Regions from separate parts of the Homo sapiens genome. Here region 2 is linked to region 1. The links are contacts of gene promoters, found by promoter capture Hi-C in blood cells and fetal thymus (Javierre and others, 2016). All regions are on one chromosome and are shown on one strand. The core of a region is centred on a gene start or on the middle of the fragment in contact, and the rest is flanking DNA. Distances in the headings are between cores, read along the strand shown. Region 1 holds the start of BCL7C (BAF chromatin remodeling complex subunit BCL7C). Region 2 holds the start of ARMC5 (armadillo repeat containing 5).

Region 1 (2,853 bases), core at 295-2,794:
CTGGAGAAGACAGGACTTAGAGGAGAGAGCTCCTGGGAGGTACCTGGTCCTACCTCTCTCTTGGCCCAGCCGTGGGGGCTGAGCCTCCTCAGGGACCCCTTCTGGGGGTCCGGCAGGTGACACAGGGCGGCTGGGCTGGGGGGTGCCCCCAGGACTGGGCTCTGTGCCCTTTTGCAGGGAACCTTCCGAATGGAAACTCTGGTTGCTGTTCTCATCTGCGGGAGCAAGAGCCGAGATGGTTGGCCTGAGATCCCTAGTACACTCCTTCAGTCCCCACAGCCCCCCGCGTTTCAGGATCCCTACCTACCATTAAGATCCAGCAGGATGAGAGGGCCACCCCCTCGGGGACTGGCGCCCCTGCCCCGACGTTCCCGGCCACGGGATCTCTCTGCCCCGCCACCTGCCCGCCTTCGCTCCTGGGGGTTAGAGGATTAGGGTCAGAGCTCTTGGAAAGCCCCACCATACACCTAAGGAAACTGAGGCACTGAGAAGCAAAAGGGCTCAAACTCAGGGGGTGTGGAGCAGAAAAGAGGGCAAAAGGGGAGGAGCTGCTAATGATGGTTCCCGTCTGTCCTGCTGCATCTGAGGTCTCGGGGAGCTGGAGGTAGAGGTCAGCGTGGGGAGGAACTTGCCTGAGGTTGCACAGATGCAGGGCCTTGTGGGAATGGGGGTTGCTCACCTCCTCCTGGGGATCCACCACTGGCACCCACTTGAAGATACGAAGGGAAGTGTCGCCCACAGTCACCCATCGCTTCTCCCTGTGGGAGGGTGGGGGGCTGGGTCAGAGAGGCCTGAGGGGAGACCCACCCCCCTAGGAGCTGGACACATCTGGGGGTACCTGCAGAGGTTGAGGAGGCACAGGAGGATAGCAACAGTTTTGCTAATGGGGCATAGTTACATGGAGGAAGAGAGTCCTGCAAACCCCAGGGCATAGGCGGTGGGTGCCTCTAGAGAGAGGATATGATTTGGGGCCCTGGCTCTGCGGACCCCTGGGGCACACATGGGGGGCGTGGCTATGGGCCTGGCCCGGGATCAGAGCCCTGCAGATCCTGGGGCGCACCTGCAGGAGGGGTGTCAAAGCTTTAGGGGGCGGGGCACAAGAGGGGGCTCCCGCTCTGGGAGGACACGGCTGGGGATCACGCTTTGTAGACCCCCAGGAGTAGCCAGGCGAACGGGGACAGAGCCCTGTGGATCCAGGGCAAAGCTAGTGGGTGGAGATACACCGAACACCCGGGGCCCAGAGCTGGCGAGGGCAGCGTAGACGCCTTTGGTGCTGGTGGTCCCGCTGTGTCCCGTCCCTGGCCCCCGAGCAGCGCTCACCATCTCCGGACCTTCTCGATGGTCGCCATCACCTTCTTGATGTCATCCTTGGCCCGGCTCCGGGTCTCGGCCCGTACAGTCCGGCCGGCCATGCTGGCGGGGCTGGGGCCGGGGCCGAGCCCGCGGCGGGGCCGCCTCCCGTCCGGCGGGCTCAGGCTCCGCGCCAGGCCCGGGCGCCGCGCTCTCGGCCTGCCGTCCCCCCTGGAGTTGGCCGCGCCCTCTCTCGTCCCCAACGCCTCCGCAAGTCCCCGCCCCGTTTCCTGCCGCCGCGCCCCGCCCCGGCCTGTCCCCGGAGCGGCCCGGTGGCGCGGGCGGCCAGAGCCCAGGCCTGGAAGCCCGGCCGGCCCCGCCCCGACCCGGGCCCGCCCCCTTGGAGCGCCTGGACGCTCAGCGCCCCCTGCCCGCCGCCGAGAGCGGGAGTTGGGGACGGACGCGCGAGTTGGGGACGGAGAGCGGGAGTTGCGACCGGACGCGCGAGGCAGGGCCGAGGCCGTGTGTTCAGACCACGTGGGCGCGGGGTGCGCGACAGGGTCTGTGTCCTGCGCTGCGTGAGCCGCGGTGGGTGTCCGCGAAACGCTGTGTGTGGAGTGCGTGCGTGTGTCCGCCCTCGCCAGGCTGTTGGTCTACACCGCCCAACTTACTCAGTCATCCATTCATTCAACAGTCTTGTTAACTGAGTGCCAATTACGCTCCAGGCGCTGCGAATACGAGTGGGTCTCCACCACCAGAATGGCTAAAGTGAAAAAGACCGCACCGTGTGGAGGCGAGAAAGTAGAGCGACTGGACCTCTCTTGTATTTCTGGGGGAGTGTAAATTGGTAGAGACATTTTGGAAAACTGGCAGTTTTCTAATGAAGCCGAACATATGCCACCTCTGTGATCCAGCAGTTCCACTCCTAGGCTGTCAACACCCAGCAGAAATGTGTAGGTGTGAGCATCAAGAGGGTGCATGGGAATGTTCAGAGCCCTTTCATAACAGCCCCAAACTGGAAATAACCCATCAACAGAATGGAAAATGAATGATGCCCTACTCACTACCATGCACATAGACACAGCAACGGGATTGACATGCCCGGCTACACACAGCAACATAGACAAGTCGCATGATGAAATCTTGAGTGACAGAAGCCAAATGCAACAGTACATACTAGATGGTTCCAGGTGTATTACGTTCAGAACCAGACAAAACTAATTTATAGTGCACCAAAGTCAAGATAGTGATCGCCCTTAGGGTTGGGAGGGGACGAGGGGAGAGCTTCTGGGAGCTGATCCAGTTCTGTTGTGTAATCTGGTGCTGGTTCCCTGGGCATATGTATTCTGTGAAAATCCATCACATGACTTAAATAAAATGTACATTACTTAAATAAAATGAGTGTGTCTTTGTTGACTTTATTTGAGGCTGGCTTGTCAGCAGATAAGACCATGTCAAAATTTGTGCTGCTGTTGTGTGTGTGTGTGTGTTTCAAGGTGTGGCTGTTGTGTCTGTGAATTTGGGCGTGACCATGTCCAGAGGTTAAGGGTATAAGGGGTTAGG
Region 2 (2,700 bases), core at 62-2,561, 570 kb after region 1:
GCTGACGCTGAAAGTCTTACCACACTAGGCACAGGCATAGGGCCGAAGCGATGGTCACACTCGGGGCAGGAGTACGGCTTTTCACCGGTGTGTACCCAGTGGTGCTTAACCAGATCAGAGCCACATCGGAAGCTTCTGCCATAACCCGGACAACGGTAAGGCTTGTCACCAGAGGGGCTGCCTTGGTGGTGAATGAAGCCGGGGAGGCAGGCTGTGGTCAGTCCACATTTCCGGCACTCGCAGGTTTTGGGGCTTGTAGACGGTTGCTCTTGGCAAAGGCTTCTTCCTCCCCAGGGCTAGAGCCTGACCATTTTCCGGGCGGGCAGCTGCCCCGACCACACCAGGAAGGGCTGCTCAGGCGGAGCCACCTCGCAATCCAGGGGTGACCTGGGGGCTCCCCGGGACGCGAATGTCCCGCTCCCCCGCCGCCCCGCCCCGTCCGGATTCTCCCTCGCCTCTTCTGGCGCGGCCGACTGCGCTGCGAGTGAAGAACTCCCCGTTTCCTAGATGCCAGCTCCTGAGCTCACGAGCACGTCCAGAGCGGAGGACACTCGGGACACCGGGGTCCAGCTCCGGAAACGGAAAATTCCACAAGCCCGTCACTCTAGGAAGCGGCAGCGAACGTTCTCGGTAGGTTTAACCCTCTTCTTCCTCTGACCGAGCGAGGGCTCCCCGTCTGCGGCGCGGTCAGGACCCCGCACTTTCGGCCCGGCTCGGGGTTCTCGGAGTCCGTCCCAAGGCCGGGCCGCACCACCGCTGGGGGGCAGCGAAGCGAGCCTAGAGGAGAAAAGGCGGTCCCCGCCGAGTGCACGCCGGGGGCGGGGCACGGCACGAAGGCTCCGTGGTCGGACTTCTGGGCTGTTCGGAGGCCCTGGCCCACCTGGAGGGCCCTGGAAGAGTTTCCAGCGCTTCCCGAGGTAGGCGTGAGAAGCTCGACGCGGACCACATCTCCCTCATGCACCGCCCGCACGTCCCAGGATGCGCTGCGATTAAGGTACTGCCGCGCCTCGTGTGCAAGGACAGACTTCCGGGGTCGAGAACTACAACTTCCGACTTGCATCACTGCGGTGGCGCTAAACAGCGTCAGCGAGGCGGTGCCCGACGATTTCCCTGTCTTCCAGTTCCGCTCCCTGGGATCAGCGGCGAGAAGCGGGGCGGAGTCTGAGGCCCGAGCCAAGATGGCGGCTGCGAAGCCAACCCTCACGGACTCGCTCTCGTTCTGCCTCGCGCAGCTCGCGGCGGCGGCCGGGGAGGCTCTGGGTGGGGAAAAGGACCCAGCGACCAACGAGACACCCCTGAGCCGCGCGCTCCTAGCCCTCCGCACGCGCCACATCAAGGCAGCGGGGGGAATCGAGCGCTTCCGGGCACGCGGCGGGCTCCGCCCCCTACTCGCGCTGCTACGGCGAGCGGCTGCAGCGGGTTCCGCCCCGTCCCAGGCAGGCCCCGGCTCCGCCCCCTCGTCGGCCGCGTCGGGAGCTTCTAGCCCCGCCCCCGCGTCGGGCCCCGCCCCCTCCGCTGTGTCGTCGTCTAGTCCTACGCCGCCAGTGCGCCTGCGCAAGACGCTGGACTTGGCGCTCAGCATCCTAGCCGATTGCTGTACGGAAGGGGCGTGCCGGACCGAAGTGCGCAGACTCGGAGGCATACTCCCTTTGGGTAAGTGCTCCGCCCCCGTTTCCTAGAAAGATTAGGTTTGCAACTCCCTTGCTCTCTAGACCCGGGCAGTCTGGAGTTCTTTGTGTCCTATCCCGGAATAACGTGCTTTGTGATGGCGCATCGCTCCTGTTTCTCAATCTGTTGTGCCCCGTGACGTCACTGCACTCTCTATAGATGAGAGAGAGCCCTCCCAGACCAGATAATTGTAGCCATTATCTAGGAATTGGTTGTTGAGGACTTCTTTCGAAGCTGGACTAGCGGAGGCCAAAGAGTTATTTGGTGATTTTTTCAGATGATTCTTACCGTCCAGTTATGATGTTCATAGCAGACATTCAGTGCCCAACTATGTGTCCGGCCCTGTGCAAGGTTCTGAAGCCCCACTGATGAGCTGGAAGGTGTAGTGGTTCAGAAAGGGAGATCTGCAAAAGTCACCTAACCCCTCCGAGGCTAGGATTCCTTGTAAAATGGGGCAATAATAGCTACCTAAAAAAATCAGAGTGGGGAGAAAACGAAGTACAAATATGGCACGAATATGCAAATATTCTAAGCATGATACGTATTTCAAGTTATTAAAAACTAGCATAAGCTGGGTGCAGTGGTACGCGCCTGTAGTTCCAGCTATTTGGGAGGCTGAGGCGGGAGGATCCCTTGAGCCTAGGAGGTTGAGGCTGCAGTGAACAATGACTGCCTGTGAATAGCCACTGCATTCCAGCCTGGGCAACGTAACAAGACCTCGTATCTTAGAAAACCAAACAAATCAGTAGTCGCTTAGGAAGCAGGAAAAAATAAATAAAAATAATTAAAACCAGCACAGTAAGAACAAATCCTAGCAAAACATAAGCTTTTCTGTTTACCAGCTAAATTGGTGCCTCCTAGTGGCAATGTGTGAAAGCAGTTTACATGTCACTACCTGCCTTCCACGAAATTATGCTAGTTTTGATGACATCTTAACTTTTCGGATAAAGGGAAGCATTAATATATTTAAAATTTACATAAAATGTATCTGGACCATATATGTTTGACAAGAGCTTTGGTTATTAAATAACC

The links. The method cuts DNA at HindIII sites, captures the fragments that hold promoters and counts their contacts. A CHiCAGO score of 5 or more calls a contact.
Region 2: a fragment that was not itself captured here is called in contact with the fragment with the promoter of BCL7C in region 1 in 5 of 17 cell types (naive CD4 T cells, fetal thymus, non-activated CD4 T cells and 2 more); the score reaches 8.2 in naive CD4 T cells.

The regions. Positions count from the first base shown.
Region 1 is chr16:30,892,533-30,895,385 of GRCh38, forward strand. BCL7C (BAF chromatin remodeling complex subunit BCL7C) reads right to left here and starts at 1,545. Exons shown (of 6, transcript NM_004765.4): 1 at 1,321-1,545; 2 at 680-758; 3 at 308-416; 4 at 54-215. The coding sequence starts at 1,412. MIR762HG (MIR762 host gene) reads left to right here. Exons shown (of 3, transcript NR_110942.1): 3 at 2,016-2,688. MIR762 (microRNA 762) reads left to right here and starts at 1,371; the gene lies at 1,371-1,453. RefSeq lists enhancers at 502-1,134, 673-1,002, 2,746-2,853 and a silencer at 1,383-1,862. The HindIII fragment of the contact is 7,734 bases long and covers 1,079-2,853 here.
Region 2 is chr16:31,458,347-31,461,046 of GRCh38, forward strand. ARMC5 (armadillo repeat containing 5) reads left to right here and starts at 1,155. Exons shown (of 6, transcript NM_001105247.2): 1 at 1,155-1,653. The coding sequence starts at 1,179. RefSeq lists enhancers at 285-825, 824-1,163 and a silencer at 1,354-1,703. The HindIII fragment of the contact is 2,362 bases long and covers 131-2,492 here.